4 separate regions of the Homo sapiens genome follow, and all the other regions are linked to region 1. Evidence: promoter capture Hi-C in 16 types of primary human blood cells and fetal thymus (Javierre and others, 2016). All regions are on one chromosome and are shown on one strand. Each heading gives the region's core, a stretch centred on a gene start or on the middle of the fragment in contact. The rest is flanking DNA. Distances are from core to core; before and after follow the strand shown.

The links. Contacts are between HindIII fragments. The CHiCAGO score rates a contact against its expected background, and 5 or more counts as called.
Region 2: a fragment that was not itself captured here is called in contact with the fragment with the promoter of SLC35D4 in region 1 in 1 of 17 cell types (total B cells); the score reaches 5.8 in total B cells.
Region 3: a contact is called between a fragment that was not itself captured here and the fragment with the promoter of SLC35D4 in region 1, in 2 of 17 cell types (total CD4 T cells and activated CD4 T cells). The highest score is 6.0, in total CD4 T cells.
Region 4: a contact is called between a fragment that was not itself captured here and the fragment with the promoter of SLC35D4 in region 1, in 3 of 17 cell types (activated CD4 T cells, naive B cells and total B cells). The highest score is 7.1, in activated CD4 T cells.

What each region holds. Positions count from the first base shown.
Region 1 is chr18:23,436,564-23,439,263 of GRCh38, reverse strand. SLC35D4 (solute carrier family 35 member D4) reads left to right here and starts at 1,303. Exons shown (of 15, transcript NM_032933.6): 1 at 1,303-1,483. The coding sequence starts at 1,412. RefSeq lists a silencer at 1,175-1,274. The HindIII fragment of the contact is 5,255 bases long and covers 1-2,700 here.
Region 2 is chr18:22,842,518-22,845,217 of GRCh38, reverse strand. The region is part of intron 2 of RBBP8-AS1 (RBBP8 antisense RNA 1); the gene reads left to right. Among named protein-coding and RNA genes, the nearest start is that of RBBP8, 89 kb to the left of the region's middle. The HindIII fragment of the contact is 8,089 bases long and covers 1-2,700 here.
Region 3 is chr18:22,915,126-22,917,825 of GRCh38, reverse strand. The region is part of intron 2 of RBBP8-AS1 (RBBP8 antisense RNA 1); the gene reads left to right. It also overlaps a transcript of RBBP8 not described here. Among named protein-coding and RNA genes, the nearest start is that of RBBP8, 17 kb to the left of the region's middle. The HindIII fragment of the contact is 1,134 bases long and covers 797-1,930 here.
Region 4 is chr18:22,797,896-22,800,595 of GRCh38, reverse strand. All of the region lies in intron 2 of RBBP8-AS1 (RBBP8 antisense RNA 1), which reads left to right. LOC124904263 (a long non-coding RNA gene) reads right to left here and starts at 2,366. Exons shown (of 2, transcript XR_007066308.1): 1 at 2,109-2,366. The HindIII fragment of the contact is 1,500 bases long and covers 666-2,165 here.

The DNA of each region.
Region 1 (2,700 bases), core at 54-2,553:
CACAGTTCCACGGGGCTGGGGAGGCTTCATAATCATGGTGGAAGGCAAAAGGCACGTCTTACATGGTGGCAGGCAAGAGAGAAAAAATGAGAGCCAAGCGAAAGGGGTTTCCCCTTATAAGACCATCAGCTCTGGGGAGACTTATTCACTACCACGAGACGAATATGGGGGAAACTGCCCCCATGATTCAATTATCTGCCACCAGGTCCTTCCCATAACATGTGGGAATTATGAAAGCTACCATTCAAGATGAGATTTGGGGACACAGCCAAACCATATCATCCAGTCTTGGTAGAGAAAGCTATACCCATCTGTACAAGTGGTTTGAAGGAGACTGTGGGAGAAAAGGGAGGGAAGGGGTGACCAGCCTACCTCCATCTCTATGTTGGTCCCCTCTGCAGACCAACCAGCAGGCCCAGGAAGAGACCTGTGGAAAAGTGAGCAGAGGCAAAGGACTGCGATGAGACAGTGGTGGCTGGGGAGTGGCTTCAAGGGGACAAGCCGAGGTCAGCCCTCCCTCAATGCTGGAGGGAGCAGAGAGAAACAAGGCATGCTTCTGAAAAACAGAAAAATTACATAAGGGTTGGTGTGTCGTTTTCCATCCACTGCTCCAGCACCGAGAGCCAGGAGGACTTTTGCTGTGGCTTAAGAGTGATGGTTTCCCCGTGTGTGGGTGTTTCTGAAAATCTGTGTGTTTCTACAGGCAGAGAACACTGGCACTTTTTGCTATTGTCCAAGTCCATCAATAGGTTTTCTTGCATGTTTACTAACATTTGCCGGAAGCCTCATGAGTCCAGTTTTCCACCCTATAGACTAGGAATAGGAATAGGAATAGGGGCTGTGCTTGGGAAAGGGTTCTTATTTTATAGAAATGTCAAGAGAATGGAATGACTTTAAATACAAACAAAACTCAAAAAACCTATACTCAATTCCAGTTCCTTCTTCCTTCACCTTCCCTCTTTTAAGTGAACATTTGTTGCTGTTACCTTTTTTGTGTCATTTGCCAAAGCGCTACAGACTCAGTGGAGAAAATTGGGAAAATTCAGTGAAGCACGGGTAATATTTTGGTCTCATAGTTTAGAGATAGCGATGAACATTTTTCTTTAAACACTGATGGGGTATTGTGAACTGCGGTATGCTTTTTTCCTCTTCTGCCACTTTCTACTCTTTAAAAGAAGATAAAAAAATAAAAAATAAAAAATAAAAGAAGAATGACCGTCCTTCGAGGGCGCGGCCCCTTTAAGAAGGCAGACGCCGGGGGCGGTCCCCGCGCTGATTGGCGGAGCTCGGAGCCACGTGGCCGTCTCTGGGCGGCTGCTGCCGCTGCCGCTGCTGCTGCTGCGGGGGTCGGGCGGCGGCCAGGGGATTTGGGCAGGCACCGTGGATCCCCGAGAAGGGGACGAGTTGACAGATGTGCGTGAGGAGGTCTCTGGTCGGCCTCACCTTTTGTACCTGCTACCTGGCTTCTTACCTCACGAACAAGGTGAGGGGGCGGGCGCGGGAGGCAGCGATTGCACGTGGGAGGTTTGAGTCGGAGAATCTTCCCGTGACAAACGGAGCCTCCTCCTGCTTTTTACCTCATTCTTCCTGGTGGCGATGGAGATGGAGAGCGAACCTCCTCCGTGTGTGGGATGCTCTTTCAGAAATAGGATTTGCCAGCCTGTACTGTCCCCGTTTCCTGCACTGTAAAGCACGGTACATCTCCAGGGAAACAGGATTTTTGGGCTGGCCATTTCCCGGGAACTTGGTTTGGGGCTGTGTGGACTAGTTTTAAGAGAAAGCAAGCAATTGGCTCCTGCTCCCCCGGGGAGGAAGAGTCAGAAGAAATCTGACACATCCTGCCTTTTTTCTAAACACGCCCCTGTCCCAGAGCCCCCGTGAAGTTCCAGAAGCCTTTAAATAGAAGAGATTAAGCCGTCTCCCCCTCACACTGCTGATTCCCGAATCAATTTTTTTGTACGTCTCCATTGTAAGCACTTCAGGAGTTTTTCATGGAATTATTATTTTTTAAAATAAAACATACATTTAGTTTTAGGTTTAAACTAATGTCATGACATCATGAAAACCTTTTGGTGAGGAGGCAGAGAAGCAGTGGTGCCAGCTTTGGGGTTTTGTTTTGCAAGGAGAGGGAAGCTGGCTTTAGGTTTGGTACCACGCAGGGAAAGGTTGGATCCAATAGGACCGAGTGGGCATGGCTGGGGCATTACCTGCTGGCCTGGACTCTGGGCTGGCCCCAGCCAAAGTGGGAATACAGGGTGCAAGACCACCTGGCCCCACTGTGGGGTCTTACTGCGGGCTCCCCACCTGCTCCCCGCTCTTCCTTTCTCCTCTCTTCCTCTCTGGAAAAGAACCATCGACAAACAGCATTTCCTTCTACCTCCTCTCCTACAATGAATGGCTGCCTTTATATATTCAGAGGATGCTCCCCAACCCCCTTTCCTTCTCCAGTTGATTTTTATTTTTATTTTTTTGAGATAGAGTCTCGCTCTGTCACCCAGGCTGGAGTGCAGTGACGTGATCTCGGCTCACTGCAACCTCTGCCTCCTGGGTTCAAGCGATTCTCCTGCCTCAGCCTCGTGAGTAGCTGGGGCTACAGGTGTGCGCCACCACGCTGGGCTAATTTTTGTATTTTTAGTAGAGACGGGGTTTCACCATGTTGTCCAGGCTGGTCTCGAACTCCTGACCTCAGGTGATCCGCAT
Region 2 (2,700 bases), core at 117-2,616, 590 kb after region 1:
AAGCCCCAAAAGTAGTTAGTAGCAAATCCATTTTTAGAAGCCATGTTTAGTACTCTTTGAGTTATACCACAGTGCCTTTAAAATGCAGCACAGATTTTGAGAAAAATAAAATAGGAAAGTATTTACTTATAAATGTCTTTATATTTCTTCTTTAAAAAAAGTGTCTCATCATTAGAGCAATATAAAAGAGTAACAACTTCACAAATTATGACAGATTTTTTAAAGGCCTGAATGTTACTTTAGAGATGCTTAACACCAATGTTCTCAATCTCGGAAGAGAGAATTAAAGCCAAGTGATTTGTGGAAGATTGTATAATGCACTAGCAGCAGAGTTGGAACTAGAACCCTGGTATCTGGATTCTCAGTCGATGACTCTGTTAAATTGTCCACATTTCTTCTTGCAAGTTGATGTGCATTTATTAAATATCTGTCACTGTGCTAGGCTACACCCTTGAAAAATAAAATGTGCCAATGAAATGTGCATTCAGCAGACTTCAGTATAGATAAATAATTAAGTTGAGAAAGCCTAATAAATTAAGCCTCAAGATTTGATTGAATTCTTTTGCCTTAGATTAAAAATGGTGTGTATGATAACTTTTTTTCCTTTTCTCATTAAAGATTTCAAGGCATTTCATACAATTATATGAAACATTACAACCTTCTTAAAGGGAGGGATTATTATATTCATTAGGAAATGAATGTACAGAGACATTAAATCGTTTGTACATTAGTCACCAAGAATAAGAATAACCCTAGGATCCCTTAGTTCTGGGTGATTTCCAAAAAACCACACCTTTCATGGATTCAGATTAACTTTGGACCACTCCTAGAATCCTGGACATGTCTGGAAAGTGAATAGGTCATTGCATTTCATTTTAGGTCAAGTCAACCACAAATCTGGCTGAACCTGACTAATCTGAGCAGAGTCCACCAAACTATGGCTTCTAACCTAGGTTAACTCCAACAGAACTGGGGAACCATTTATTATTCTGTGGGTGAGGCCGCATGCATCACAAGTCAACAGCATATGAATGAAAACCACAGAATTAAAGGTGTTACTGGCACCAAGACCCAAACTAAAAGTGCTGATCCAGGAATGACAATTTCTAAACATTTTCAGGCAAGTTAGGAACACAAGTAAGACTAGCTCTGGGCAGATCCCATTTGTGTGACTGGCACCAACACAGAAAATACTGTACAGTGTGTGCCTCATTTACCTTGGCACTGAGGCTGCATCAGCCCCTTTGTGCCCTGACTATGCCTTATGCAAATTTTAAGATACAAAGCAATTTTTTGTTCCAGGTTTATTTTAATCATCTTTAGATTCTCCTTCCCTTAGCAGGTTACCTTCATTGTGGTAAAAATAAAGAAATAAGTAAGTCTGTGATCCCCTTGTATAGTTTAAAAACATTCTGGTTGCCAGGGGAAATGCAAATGCAGATCCTTTCTTCCATAGTCTTCCAGGTTTTCGGGGTATATTAGGTCAAGTCCATTAAGAAGTAGGAGATTTACTGGGGGAAGGAGGAGAAGGTGGAGAGATCCTTCAGATTGTGTAGAAGAGAAGGAAGAAAGGAAGACTGGGTATGAGGAGTCTCAGACTGCAGTGCAGTACCAAGGAAGATTTGGCCAGGTTGATGGGGAGTCCTTGAATCAAAGTTACTGAGGAGTCCTGTATATTGCCAAAATGGACCTACCTTAGTATCTCTGAGGTGGTCCAGAATTGGCTGGGAACCACCCCCCACAACAAAAGTATGTCCTTGGGGCAAATGCAGTGCTGGATCCAGAGGGACAAGATCTCAGGCTGTTGGTCAGTTATGCTCCTCACAACAGGAGGTCTGACAGGAGCATTTTCATGCCTGCTCCTGTCTAACCCTTGTTCCACACAGGTCTACTTCACATAGCTTTGGGATGCAACTCCTCCGTGGTTCCTTAGGGGTCTCTTTCTAAGGGGGAATTTAGAAGAGGGATAGTAGAACCATGTCTGGCACAATAGCTATCATCAGGGATACTCCTTTGTTGAGCTTGTGATAGTCTACAGATGGCTTTTGCAGGGGCCAGATTAGTGAATTAAATGAAGATATGATGAGAGCCACCATCTCTGCCTCCTTTAGCTCTTTAATGACAGCAACAATCTCCTTCATCATCTGTAGGATATATTGTTTTTGAATTACTATGTTGGCTGAGGAGGAACAATTTTAAAGATTTCCACTTGGTTTTTCCTGCTGTGATAGCTCTTACTCCATAGGCCAAGGGTCTTAATCTGGGGGTTACTCCAACTGCCAAGTTGTTGCAGTGGGTGTCGTAGGAATGATTATAGAATATACTTTCTGTGGTATTTAGTCAATGGATTTTGGTTCTAAAAATCTGCTCAAGTCTGGGAATATTAGCAGAGGATTGTGACTTTTTTATAGGTATGACTATCCTCTGCCTCTTGCTCTCCCATTCTTGCCTTTTTTTAAATTTAAAGATGTTAAGTAGCACCCTTGCTGACTGCCCTTCTATTTTGCTCCTAGGAAAACCATGCTTTATCAACCATCTCCACAACTCCCTGTGGATCAAACCCATTGGCTGCTCTGATCTTGCAGGCCATTATGGTAATTGCAGCCTCCTGACTTTTGATAGTTAAGTGCTATCACTTGGCCTCTATTCCTGTGGGGCCTCTATCATGAATATGAATACTAATGAGCCCAGCTCTATGAT
Region 3 (2,700 bases), core at 114-2,613, 520 kb after region 1:
GATTTCATCATATTGGCCAGGCTTGTCTCGAACACCTGACCTTGTGATCTGGCTGCCTCAGCCTCCCAAAGTGCTGGGATTACAGGAGTGAGCCACTGCGCCCGGCCCCAACATTATATCTTAATGCCTTCCAAGATTGCTGATTTTATTTTTATCTTTCTGACAAAAACGTGCATATTCTAAGTTAAAGTTGACTTCTCTTACTGAAAGAAAATACTGAAATACTTCAGGAAATACCGAAGCTATTTGTTGAAATGTATTATATAGTCTGTAAAAGGGGTAAGAAGGATACTGACATTTGCTGAGCACCTGCTATGTTCTAGGAACTATGTGAAGTGTTTTACATGATATCTCATTTAATTCTTCCAATAACTCTGAAAGAATGGTATTAACTTAACTTCCTTAACTAGATGGAGAAAAGCTAACTCAGAGAGTTAAATAATTTCCAAGGGGAACGTAATTTGTAGCAGAGTTATTCAGACCCATGTCAATTTGGCTCAAAAGCTCACATGCTTTTCAGTATACTGCCTTTTCTCTTGTAAAGTTAAGAAACAAATGAAAGCGATTTTTTTCAGAGTCCACTTGGACTGAACTAAAATGACCAAATTTAGAAGCATTTTCCAGGTAGGATTTTACCTGTGATAAGATAAGGTAATTAGTAGAATTAACATTTAGTACCAGGAATCAGAATTGAAATTTTTGGCCTTTGGTTCTCCAACTTTCTGTAATCACATTTCCTAGGAATTCCTCAAATTAAAAATGTTTAAAACTTTTTTGAGCACTTGTGTGCAAAGCTTACCCCTTCAATAACAGCTTCTATCACCTCTAAGATGGGTTTTTAAGTCCTGCAATTTCTGTCTTCATAACAAAATTTTCCTGTCAGTTCTAACCAAATTTAAAGAATACTATATTAACTTAGGCAAATCCTAAATTATGAGCATTTAAGAATGACTAAAATAATACAAAAATATATACATACTAAGAAAATAGACAGTTGAGACAGCTTAAAGCAATATTGAGTCAGAAAATGAGAGCGGGATCCACAAGTTGGGCAAATATGAAAGAATGTGAGGCTTTCATCAGTCTGAAACAAAATAATATGATGGCATTAAGAGATTGGGGTTTGAAGTGGTAGTCACCTTTGTTATCAATGGCAATCCCATATATATTCAGCCATTGTCCCAAAAATGTTTGGGGCAATAATGGTATAGATTAAAATATAAAAACAAATGATTTTTTAGTTCACCAAAGATTCATTAACACACTATACAACATAATTTTACCTTTTTAGATTAGATTTCATGTAGTATTCAGAAGAGTCAATGTAGGGTAGTGAAAAAATTACTGGTCTTGGTGGAAGTCAGGAAACCTGGATGTTCTGGCCCCAGATCTACCCTTAGATTATATAATAGTGACTTAGCTATATTTTGGGGCTTTTCATTTCTTAACTCAAAAATGAGATATTGGATTCATTGGTTATTCTTTAAATGTCCCTCTTAGGTAAAAAATGACATAATTCTAAGTGCTTTTAGTGGAAAACACATGAAGATATTCAGGAGGGAAAGAAGTTGCAGTTGTTAAGAAAGCTAGCATTGTTGACAGAAAGAGTTATGCGAAATTGTGCAGCTAGGAATAAAAAGAAATGCATCCTCGACTAAAAGAGTAAAAAAATTTTAAATGAGTGGAATACTTTTTGACTAGGCGCTGAAGTATGTTGGTCTGTATAAAATACATACACACTCCTAATTTGATTGACAAATTTATATATCCTCAGTTTTAACAAAAATATCGCAATGTATCAATATTTTAAAGGACTAAATTTATGGAAAATACATGAAAGTAATATCTAATAGGACTTACATATATTTGAAAATGAAAATTCCATTAAATGAAAATTGTAAAATCCTCTCCCAAAATACAGAGTTAAGCTTGAAATTTTACCCATGGATTTTATATAAATGTATATCTAGTTCTTAAATAGCTTTCTTCAAAACCATAAACATAAAAAATGCTCAATAAATAAATTAGAATCCCAAATTAAATTTATCTTTAAACAGTAAGCCCTATGTTTTAAACACGGTGTGGTTTAAATTTTTTAAATTATCATATGCAATATATTCACCAGAAATACTAACAATGTGCTCTATTGGTATATATATATTACCTGAAAACTAGGTTTCATGTAGTAAATTCAGAAAAATTCAGCCAATTAAAAGTTTTGATCCATATTACCAAAAACTTGTCAAAATACAATTTGTGCTGAATAAAATTAATATTGGCTTGCTGAATCAGCACATTGCTTTTGCAGATACAACATTACATAGCTTTTCAGCAGTTTACCTGGATTACCAGAAATTCATGCAGAACTGCCTAGAAGTAGGACTATGAAGCATCCAAGGGTTTTCCCTGCAAAAAATGAAATCTCATCTGAACATTTATTCACACTTTTAAATTTATTCTTTGTCAACATCCTAAGGAAACTAATATTATAGCCTTTGAGTTAGAAAATAATTTTATAGCCTTTGAGTTTGAACATAGTGACAAAGTGGGAACCCTAGGGACAATGAAAAGGATGCATCAGTCTTGCTCAGCTCAAAGCAAAGTCCTACTAAGATGACAGGAAAGCATTCAGTATAATATGTTAAAAAAATTTTAAATTCCCAGATAAAATCATATGTCAGCTGTTATGTTAAATTAAAT
Region 4 (2,700 bases), core at 166-2,665, 640 kb after region 1:
GCATGCCCAGTGTTTGCTGCCACCACCGCCACAGCATCTATGGTCTTGGGTGCTGGCGGGAGAACATTTTGCATCAGAAACCATGGCTGAAGGTGATCTCGCTAAAAAAATCCTGTCCTGTATGTTACCTTTCACTGTTTCCCACAACTGATTTAGAGCCCAAGGAAAAGGATGCTAAGAGCTTGGGTTCTTTCTCACTGCAAATCTGTGAGCTGGTACTCTTAACCAGCTTTAACTCTTAACCAGTGAGTTAACTCTGTGAGCTTTAACTCTTTACCAGTCACTGCTTCCCCGTACAACCAGCCTGCTTAACCTAGAAGTAAGGGAAAAATCACTCCTTTGCTATTACCCTGCTTTTACCTGACCCCAGACCCCCAAGTCCTAGATATTAAAGTGGGATTTAAAGTCTTTTTTTATTGTTAAATTTGTAGCCAAGGCATGTAGAGGTGTTTGTTCCCTAGTGGGTGGCAGGTTGCAGTCTAATTTTATTTTCATTTTCAAGATTTGGTTTCAGGGCTTAATGTGGGAAATTAGGTGATCATGAATAGAAAGTAATTGTGCAACCATCTATGTCTGATTTATTAAAAAACAAAACTCTGAAAAGGAAAATCACAGCAGTGCCTCATAGTTGTACTTCTATGTTAATATCTGTTTGTCAAAAAGCTTTTCCCCTTTGCACATAATAGGTGATATAAAAGTGTTTCCTAAAATCTCAAATGTAAACTATACCAACAACATGTTCTATTCAGAAATCTGTTTTAGAACAGCTTTTGCATGTTAATGATAAATTCATTTCATTATTAGATTTTTCCTATAATTAGAGATATCTTTTAAAAAGTGAAACAATACCTGCCTCTTAATAAAGTCTTCCTCTTTGTTGAATGAACTAACAAATGAAGACTTCAGGGAAGACTAAAACCATCCTCTACCAAATTCCATGGTATGGCTTGGGACTAGATTGCCTTTGGCTCTGGCAGAACATTATAATCCCTGGAGGGATCTCCTGAATTTAGTAAATGCCTCCTGTGAGTTGAATGACACATTTCTTTGCTAGTGGGTGGGAGTATTCCTACGGTTTTTTTCAGCGTGGATAGTGCCAGGAATCCTAAGGGCTTTGCTTTCAAAAGCAGACAAATAACTCAGTTTTGCAAACCTCAGAGGATCAGTAAGAGAAAGTGACCCAAGCCCCAGAGAAAAAGCAGGGATGTTTAAGGATAGAACCATCCCTTTATTTATCCTTTTATCTCATTCCAGAACCATAAATCTCTTCGCCGTCTTGGATTGCCTCCCTATAACAACATGTGGTAGAGATTTTGGCCCAAGTACTAATTAAACCTGAAGGAACCCCAAGGGGAAAACTCAGTCTTGAGTCTCCCTCTGGTGGACATTTGTAGTAATCCACATACAGCTCTGTCAAATGAAGGGACGAATTTCAGAAATAAATATTCAAAGAATAGTAAACATATTCTAAGACACCAGCACTATGCACTATTATTTTCTATGCATTAATTAAAATTCTTAAATTATTCACCTCTATAATCTTCTGTTTTATTTCCTAGAATTTACCCTCACTTTGAAAATCTGAGCTGGATGCAGTGGTTCACGCTTGTAATCTCACCACTTTGGGAGCCCAAGGCAGTAGGCTCATTTGAGGCCAGGAGTTCCAGACCAGCCTGGCCAAAATGGCGAAACCCTACCTCTACTAAAAATACAAAAATTAGCTGGGCATGGTGTTGAGCGCCTGTAATCCCAGCTACTCGGGAGGCTGAGGCAGGAGAATCACTTGAACCCGGGAGGCAGGAGAATCGCTTGAACCCAGAAGGCGGAGGTTGCAGTGAGCCGAGCTAGCGCCACTGCACTCCAGCCTGTGTGACAGACCGAGACTCCGTCTTGATTAAAATAAAATTTAATAAAAAGTTTAAACAATTCCTTGAAACAAAACAGCCTAGAGTCCCCTCACCCCAGCGCTACAAAGTAAATGAAAGAAGTAAACAGTTTGTCCATCTCCATTTCCATTCTAACACAGAACACCAAAGCAGAGATGATTTAAAATTTGCCATTTGTAATTAACTGCTGGGCAGGATTCCACTGGAAAATTTCCCTCTCACCTTTAACTTGAATCCAGAGGAGGTTTAAGGTGTTATCAGCTCTTCCTCAGGGAAGCTTCCACGCAGGAGGCTTTCTTTGGAGCTCTGTTCCCTAGGTAGCTCCAGGATCTTTGGACTTTTCTTGTGCTTATATAGTTAATGGCCCTCTGAATTGCTCTCTTCAAAAGGGGAACCGTTTGAACTTGGGGGGCGGAGGTTGCAGTGAGCCGAGATCTCGCCATTGCACTTCAACCTGCGCGACTGAGCAAGACTCTGTCTCAAAAAAAAAAAAAAAAAAAAAAAAAGGCCAGGGGCGGTGGCTCACACCTGTAATCCCAGCACTTTGGGCAGGCGGATCAGGAGGTCAGGAGATCGACACCATCCTGGCTAACACGGTGAAACCCTGTCTCTACTAAAAATACGAAAATTAGCCGGGCATGGTGGGCGGGCTCCTGTAGTCCTAGCTACTCCGGAGGCTGAGGCAGGAGAATGGCGTGAACCCGGGAGGCGGAGCTTGCAGTGAGCCGAGATCGCGCTACTGCACTCCAGCCTGGGCGACAGAGCGAGACTCCGTCTCAAAAAAAAAAAAAAAAAAAAAAAAAAAAAAAAAGGA